Linked DNA regions of Homo sapiens: region 1 is linked to region 2. Evidence: promoter capture Hi-C in human tissues and cell types (Jung and others, 2019). All regions are on one chromosome and are shown on one strand. Each heading gives the region's core, a stretch centred on a gene start or on the middle of the fragment in contact. The rest is flanking DNA. Distances are from core to core; before and after follow the strand shown. Region 1 overlaps UBE2L3 (ubiquitin conjugating enzyme E2 L3). Region 2 holds the start of PPM1F (protein phosphatase, Mg2+/Mn2+ dependent 1F).

Region 1 (4,335 bases), core at 977-3,476, 330 kb after region 2:
TCCCCCAAGTAGCCAGGACTACAGTCGTGCACCACCATGCCCGGCTAATCCAGTCCTCTTGTGTACTCTGGAGATAGGAGGCCTAGTATTGAACTGACTGCTCACTCTCATGCATGCACACAGGGTCACTTTCTTCAGGGCAGGACCGGGTAGAACTTCCCTGCATCAGCCCAGCACCCAGCACCATGCTCGGCTCAGGGAAGTTTCGGTTAAGGTGACTGAGTGGGCACTAGAGAGAAGGGTATGTGATGGCGCTGCACTTGTCAATGCGCAATGACCCAACTCTGGAAGACCCTTAGGAGTTTCTGAACCCTCTAGAAAGGGTCACTGGGGCCAGCCAATGGGAAGCTGACAACCGCCATCGCATCACATTGTCAAGACCACAGGCAGATGTCACGCTGATGGCTCTGATGGGTGCCACAGTACTCCCCCTAGGTGCCGTAGCCCAGACGTGCCCCAGGGTGGAAGGATAGTGGGGAATCAGAAGCAGCTGCTACCCACACCTCCTCACATACTTTGCCACAGTTGCCCCCTGACCCTGTCAGGACCAGCACCCTCAGAATGTTCCTTCCCACTGTAAAACAGTGCCCCTCTTCTCCGAACTGCTGATGCCACAAATTCCTTCTTATTTTTTTTAGACAGTCTTGCTGTCACTCAGACTGGAGTGCAGTGGCTCAATCATACTTTACTGCACGGTACCCTCAAACTCCTGGGTGTAAATGATCCTCCTGCCTCAGCTTCCTGAGTAGCTGAGACTACAAGCACATGCCATCACGTCCAGCTAATTTTTTTTTTTAACCTAGGCTAGAGTACAGTGGTGCAATCACAGCTCACTGCAGTCTTATCTCCTGGGCTCAAACAATCCTCCCACCTTGGCCTTGAGAGTAGTTGGGATTACGGGTGTTAGCCACTGCTCCTGGCCTAGTTTTTTGTAGAGATGGGGTCTCACTATGTTGCCCAGGCTGGTCTCAAACTCCTGGGCTTGAGTGATCCTACCGCCTCATCCTCCCAAAAGTGCTAGGATGACAGGCATGAAGCCACTGCACCTGGTCAATTCCTTTATTAAGGGCTCATATTGTTCATTCAGCATTACAAGAAATGGATTAAAATGCAAATGCTAGCCAGGCAGATCACCTGAGGTCAGGAGCTCAAGACCAGCCTGGGCAACATGGTGAAACCCCGTCTCTACTAAAAATACAAAAATTAGCCAGGCATGGTGGCCCATGCCTAGAGTCCCAGCTACTCAGGAGGCTGAGGCAGGAGAATCGCTTGAACCCGGGAGACGGCAGTTGCAGTGAGCCGAGATCGTGCCACTGCACTCTAGCTTGGGCAACAGAGCGAGACTCTGTCTCAAAAGTAAATAAATAAAACAAAATGCTGATGCTGGCTGAGTCATATGCAAAGGCATAATCATTCAACAGCACACATTAAGTGAGGGCCACAGCACAAAGTACTCCTGGCCTGGTGTCCAAAACCCACCTGCCTAACCTCTGCTTTTTACTGTGCCTGGTGAGAATGGGAAAGAGAGGGCTCCTGTGACCACAGTGGGTAGAGGTGAAGCAGTGGGGCAGAGGCGAGGAGGGCATTGCGCATGCAATGCTGACAGGTTCCACGTTTGTTGGGGGTGGATGGGCAAGGAGGGTGGACTGTGAACAGCAAGCAGGGGCAAGGGGCCTGGAAAGCTCTCTGCAGGCCAGGGTGGCCTCTAATTCAGTCTCTAAGCCTCTTCAGGGGTAGGTGGTATCACCTCCCTGTACAAGCCACCTGTACCTCTAGAGGCAGCAGGCCCTGGAGGTATATTTTTATTTAATAAACATTTATTTATTTATTTAATAAACGAAGCCCACCCTTGGCTGACTGGCCACAGTGTATTTCAGTGCACACCACCCTCGGTGTGAGACTGCTCCCTTTTCCTGGCTGTTCTTGACTTCAGGGCTGGAAATTGAGCCACAGTCGCCTAAGAGCACAAATAGGTGGCTCCCCTTCCTTTCCCATGATTAGAAATGGCCCTGTAACAGGAGAATTACTACCGCATTAGCATTTTAGAAACCTCACTGGGCTAAGGACAGGCTGAGTACTTCGTTAGGGGCACGCTCAGGAGTTTTCACCTCACTCTCTGATATGAATACTTAGGCTCTCTACTTCTCACTATCATCACCTTGGTAACTAATGCAGAGGTTGGTGGCTCACACCTGTATTCCCAGCACTTTGGGAGGCCAAGGAGGAAGGATCACTTGAGGCCAGGAGTCTGAGACTGGCCTGGGCAACATAGCAAGACCTGGCCTCTACAAAAAATAAAAAATAAAATTAGCCGGTTGTGGTGGCACATGCCTGTAGTCCCAGCTCCTTGGGAGGCTGAGGTGGGATGATTGCTTGAGCCCACAATATTGAGGCTGTAGTGAGCTGTGATTGTGCCACTATACTCAGCCTGAGTGACACAGCAAGACCCTATCGCAAAAAAAAAATAATATATATATATATTTTTTGAGATGGAGTCTCGCTCTGTCGCCCAGGCTGAGTTAGTGGCACAATCACAGCTCACAATCTCGGCTCACTGCAAGCTCCGCCTCCCAGGCTCATGCCATTCTCCTGCCTCAGCCTCCCGGGTAGTGGGATTACAGGCACCTGCCACCATGCCCGGCTAATTTTCTGTAATTTTTTAGTAGAGACGGGGTTTCACCGTGTTAGCCAGGATGGTCTCGATCTCCTGACCTCGTGATCCACCTGCCTCCGCCTCCCAAAGTGCTGGATTACAGGCGTGAGCCACTGCACCTGGCAAAATAAAAATTTAAAGACCTATTTCTCAAAAGATGCCATTTGTCTATTTCGTTATTTTTTATAGTTTCACTAATTTGATCAAGTCTGAATTTTTTTTTTAATTGAGATGGCGTCTCACTCTGTCGCCCAGGCTGGAGTGCAGTGGCACAATCTCAGCTCACTGAAACCTCCACCTCCTGGGTTCAAGGGATTCTCCTGCCTCAACTTCCCCAGTAGCTGGGACTACAGGCATCCGCCACCACGCCTTGCTAATTCTTTGTAATTTTAGTAAAGATGGGGTTTCACCATGTTACCCAGGATGGTCTTGATCTCCTGACCTCATGATCCACCCATCTCATCCTCCCAAAGTGCTGGGATTACAGGCATGAGCCACCATGCCCGGCCTCAAGTCTGAGTATTTTTAAATTTACTTAGTAGTTCTGATAAGTATTTCATTCTTTCGCTGTTCCCCTGGGTGCATTTCTGGCTCCTTAGCTAAACTATAATAAACTTCAGCTGAGCTGAACTTATTTTGCTAGTAAGAACACCTGACAGATTGTCTGCTTTACAAATTACAACTGTGGCCCTCTATCAACATTTTTCATATATAGGACAGCATATTAAAATTATATTTTATAAAACATCCAGCCCTGGGTTCTTGGTCTCTTCCATGACCCAAATGCTCCTCAGAAGTACTTTTTTTTTCTGCAAAATGTAGGGGCTTAAAAACATACAACAGGCCGGGCGCAGCAGCTCACACTTGTAACCCTAGCACTTTGGGAAGCCGAAGTGGGCAGACTGTCTGAGCTCAGGAGTTCAAGACCAGCCTGGGCAATATGGTGAAACCTTGTCTCTACTAAAATACAAAAAACTAGCCAGGTGTGGTGGCATGCGCCTGTAGTCCCAGCTACTCGGGAGGCTGAGGGAGGAGAAATGCTTGAATCCAGGAGGCGGAGGTTGCAATGAGCCAAGATTATGCCACTGCACTCCAGCCTGGGTGACAAAGTGAGACTCTGTCCCCCCAACAAAAAACAAAAAACAAAAAACCCACACAACAAATTAGCCAATTTTACCTTTTACTCTCACTATATTCTCATCAGAGAATAAAGCCTATAATATTTCCTTCCTTTTGTTCCTTTTCTTTTTTTTTTTTTTTTTTTAAGACAGAGTTTCGCTCTGTTGCCCAGGCTGGAGTGCAGTGGCAGCAGCTGGGACTACAGGTGCCCGCAACCACGCCCGGCTAATTTTTGGTGTTTTTAGTAGAGACGGGGTTTCACCGTGTTAGCCAGGATGGTCTCGATCTCCTGACCTCGTGATCTGCCCGCCTCGGCCTCCCAAAGTGCTGGGATTACAGACATGAGCCACCGTGCCTGGCCCTTTTGTTCTTAATGACAGTTTCTCTGCAATAGCGGATGTAAACAATATTTGTGATTTCCCCTCCTTTTCATAAAAATCCAGGGAGCTTCATTGTCAAAGAATAAAATGTCAATGTACCTTCAACCCAAAAAGATATGCAATGTTGTAGCCTTCCATGGAATGTGCTTTAAAAAAAGGGGGGGGGTGTTTTGTTTTGTTTTT
Region 2 (4,448 bases), core at 1,561-4,060:
TTCTGCACTGCGCTTTCAGCCACAGGCAGGGCTAATCACAAAGTGTTCCTTTATTTTCCTCTGCAGTTGTCCCTTGTGTGTGACCCTCCTTCAAGGCCCTTGGCTTCCGCAGCTTGATTCTGCACTCCGAGTCCATTCACCTTCTCCCATCCAATAGCATCCAACCCCGCTGCTACTGCTGCCAACCTGGCCTTGGGAGCAATGAGGACAAGGAAGGGACAAGACCCCTTTTAGGCCAGAACTGCCTTCAGATCAGCCACGCTCCATGGGACTGTACCTCTGCCCTGGAGGCTGGAGAGGTCAGTGGCTGCAGACTGTCTCAAGGAGCCCCTGGCCCTGCCCACCTAGCCAGGGGTGCAGCCTTGCCAGAGAAGCAGAGAAGCGTCTGTGGCTGGGTGGGTGATATTGAAAGATTCCTTTCACCAGGGTGGAAGCCAGGATCTGAGGCGTGATGGAATGTGGACAGTGAGGCAGTGACAGCGCCACAAGGCAGGAGTCATCTCCAGGCACGTCCTTGGCCTGGAGCCCATAGGGACAAGCTCCTGGTGGTGCCTCACTTTGCCATCCTCTCTAAGCCGCAGACCTTGAATGGAATCAGTGCTCAAGAGTCTAATTGGGCCCACTCTGAGGATGCCTGCGGGAATATCAGCTTTTACCGCACCACACTGCACTTTACAGTGTGGGAGGGCCTGCCCCACGCACCACCTCACCTGTACTGCGGTTCTCAAACTTCACCCTACAGCCATTCTGTTGTAGGTGATCTCAGGGGCAGTTTGAGAAACAGTGGCTCAGGGTCTCACAGCAGCCCTCTGAGATAGGTTGGTTGCTATTGTCCCGATTTTTTCTCATCAAGAAACTGAGGCTCAGGTGAGCTAAGGAATGTGCCCAGGGCCACTGTTTATAAGAAGTAGCCTCAAGCCTTGCTCATGGTTACTGCCCTGACAGGGATCTAGGAAAGAGTGAGCAGGAGAATGGGATGAGGCAGGACCCTCCGCCCCAGCCCTGCTTTCTCTGCCCAGACACCTCCTGCCTTGCAGACCCAACCCCACCCCAGATGGTTTCCTTTCCAGTCACCCAGCTGCTAGTTCTCCAGGTTCCTGGTCTCACTCCAGGTTCCTCCTGTTAGAGAAGCATCCCAGAGACATTCATTCCTGGCAAGGACACAGGCCTGCGGACCTGAAGGTCAGGTGGGCAGAGCCACATAAGATCTGGTGCCCCATCCTCCATTTAAAAAATTATACTTTCCAACGGCATTGGTATAAAGGTGAATATATTAATATCATATATTAAAACATTTTCTTTGACATAAAGGTTTCTTTCTTCTGCCTTTAAAATAAAATATTTTGGCCAGGTGTAATGGTTCACACCTATAATCCCAGCACTTGGGAAGGCTGAGGCAGGAGGATCACTTGAGCCCAAGAGTTCAAGACCAGCCTGGGCAACATAGAGACCCTGTCTCTACAAATTTTTTTTAATCAGCTGGGCGTGGTGGTGCTTGCCTGTGTTCCCAGACACTAGGAAGGCTGAGGCAGGAGGGGAGGGTCACTTGAGCCCAGGAGTTTGAGGCTGCAGTGAGCTGTGATCATGCCACTGCACTCCAGTGTGGGCACCAGAGAAGGAGCTTGTCTCTAAAAAGAGAGAAAAAGAATATTTTCAAGAGCCTCTGTGTTGGCAGAAAAATGGCCCTTCAGAGATGTTCATGTCCTATACCTGTGCCTGTGTTAGATTACATGGCAGACCCGGCATAGTGGCTCACGCCTGTACTGTAATCCCAGCACTTTGGGAGGCCGAGGCAGGCAGATCATTTGAGGTCAGGAGTTTGAGACCAGCCTGACCAACATGGTGAAACCCCATCTCTACTAAAAATACAAAAAAAATTAGCCGGGCATGGTGGTGCGTGCCTGCAGTCCCAGCTACTCGGGAGGCTGAGGCAGGAAAATCGCTTGAACCAGGGAGGCAGAGGTTGCAGTGAGTCGAGGTCATGCCACTGCAGTACAGCCTGGGTGACAGGGTGAGACTCCGTGTCAAAAAAAAATAATAATAATAATAAGGGGCAAAGGGGAATTAAGGTTGCTAATCAACTGATTTAGAGAGATGATGCTGGACTATCTGGGTGGGCCCAATGGCATCAGGAGGGTCTTTAGAAGTAGCAGAAGGAAGCAGAGGAGGGAACCAGAGGTGGCAGTGTGAGAAAGGCTCAACTGGCCATTGCTGGCTTCGAGGCTGTAGGAAGGGGCCACGAGCCAAGGTATGCAGGGAGCCCTTAGGAGCTGGAAAAGGCAGGGGAACAGTTTCTCCCCTAGAATCCTCAGAAAGGAACGCATTCTGGCGATCCCTGGATCTTCGCCCACTGAGGCTAAGTGGACTTCTGACCTCCAGAACGGAAAGATAACAAAAGCCTCAACGTTTGTGGAAACAAACAACTCATAATGAGCCTGGGACTGTGCCTCCTTCCCGGACGGATGAGCCTGCCTGGGCAGTCTGGGTTTGCATCCCTGCTCTGTCACTTACCAGCTATTGACGGCAGAAGTTGCTTAATTTCTGGGCGCTGTGACCTAGGGATTGCTTTCCCCATCCAGCCGCCCACCCAAAGCTGCAGAAGAGAAGCAAGAGGCTGGTGACTGGGGCGGCTCCGGAGCCCAGGTGGAGCCGCAGTTCGCCTACCACTAAAGGGCCGCAGTCACCGTCCACGTAGCCGCCAGGGGGCAGCAGAGGTCCGGCCCCGCCAGCCTGGAGGCCCGACTGCGCCTGCGCGGCGCCCGCGGCGCCCGCGGCGGCCAGGGACGGGAAGTGGGCGGGGCCGGCCGGCAGCAGCTTGCGGGACACGGAGCCGCGAGGAGACAGCTGAGGCCCGCGGAGACCAGGGGTGAGGAGGCCGGGGGGGACGGGATTAGAGGGCTGACGGGGCTGGGACGAGGGTCAGGCGAGCGCCCAAGGCGCACAGGGGTGAAATGGGACCGAGGAACCGGAGGGGTGGAATCAGAGGGCTGGGGAGGCAAGGAGGCCGAGACGAGGCTCACATGGGTGCACCGAAAGGGTGCGGGGGTGCAGTGCGGGGGGCCGAGGAGCAAGAGGGGCCGCTGCGGACATGAGGAACCCGAGGCTGGGAGTTGGGGGGCTGGGGAGCCAAGGGGGCAGAACTGGGGGGCAGGCGGGGGTGTGGCCGAGCCGAGGGCCTGGTAGGGACCGAGGGCTATGAGGCAGAATCGGGTGCTGAGGGGGACGCGCCCCATTTTCCGAGATTTGGCCTCTCCCCACCCCCCAGGAGCCTCTGGGCCGGCACGTTGCCCCATATCCCCCCAGTCCCTGCACCTTCAGGGGCCCAGTCTGCCTGATGGCCCCCGGCTCCGCGGCCTCCCAAGCGTCCGTGAAGCGAGCGTCAGCTGCACAAGTGCTCGGGCTGCAGCTGCTTCAGCCACAGGTCTGTGAGCCAGAGCCTCAGGCGCGGAGGCCGGGCACATTGCCGCTGGGTTCGGTCAGGCAAGCCCCTGAACCTGTCTGTACAACAGGAAGAACTGGCTCCGGCTGCAGGGATTTCGGCACAGCGCTTGACACACAGTGAGGCCCACTGCATGGTGGCGGGCTCCTTCGAAGCCTTCCACCCTGCGGGACAGAGTCACACATGTCGTGGTGGCATTCCCCGGGACAAGTTCTCTGGGCCCAGCTGAGCTCTCACCACGGGGGATAGAAAGTGGGGCCGGCCAGCACTCTGAGGCCATCTCCAGTCTCTTCTGTTGTCAAATTTCGCTCTTTTCCTCCTGCACGCGAGGTGGAAATACCAAAGGCATTGGGCATCCAGAGACCTTGATTGAGTTCGCTTTGCCCTTTCACCTGTGTGAGACCTTAAATGGGTGCTTGCCCTCCTATAACCTATTTCTTCATCTGCAGTGTAGCCTGACAGTATGTACTTCTCAGCGTAGTTGTGAGAGGTAAACAAAACGAATGCATTTCTGAAAGCCATGAACCTCTACACAAGTTCATTTGTGGAATTCCTTTAAGATACCCCCTGAAGGCCGGGCGCGGTGGCTCATACCTGTAATCCCAGCACTTTGGGAGGCCGAGGCAGGCATATCACCTGAGGTCAAGAGTTCCAGACCAGCATGGCAAAATCCCATCTCTACTAAAAATACAAAAATTAGCCGCGCGTGGTGGCAGGTGCCTGTAATCCTAGCTACTCAGGAGGCTGAGGCAGGAGAATTGCTTGAACCTGGGAGGCGAAGGTTGCAGTGAGCTGAGATCCCACCATTGCACTCCAGCCTGGGCAACAAGAGCGAAACTCCCTCTCAAAAAAAAAAAAAAAAAAAAAAAGGATACCATCTGACCTGAAGCCAACCGAGTCTTTTAAGACCTGGCGCTGCTGCCCACTGCACCCTTCAGAGTGGTGTAGCTTCCTCAGCCCATGCCACCCGCCAGTCACTCTTCCCTCTGCCATCACACTTACCACCTGC

What was found. Contacts are between HindIII fragments. The study calls those that stand out against the background at their distance.
Region 1: a contact is called between a fragment that was not itself captured here and the fragment with the promoter of PPM1F in region 2, in 3 of the 25 tissues and cell types used here (heart left ventricle, lymphoblastoid cells and mesendoderm cells).

The regions. Positions count from the first base shown.
Region 1 is chr22:21,616,727-21,621,061 of GRCh38, reverse strand. All of the region lies in intron 3 of UBE2L3 (ubiquitin conjugating enzyme E2 L3), which reads right to left. Among named protein-coding and RNA genes, the nearest start is that of YDJC, 11 kb to the left of the region's middle. The HindIII fragment of the contact is 9,374 bases long and covers 1-4,335 here.
Region 2 is chr22:21,951,210-21,955,657 of GRCh38, reverse strand. PPM1F (protein phosphatase, Mg2+/Mn2+ dependent 1F) reads left to right here and starts at 2,810. Exons shown (of 8, transcript NM_014634.4): 1 at 2,810-2,866. RefSeq lists a silencer at 2,618-3,027 and enhancers at 3,021-3,541, 3,588-3,657. The HindIII fragment of the contact is 12,140 bases long and covers 1-4,448 here.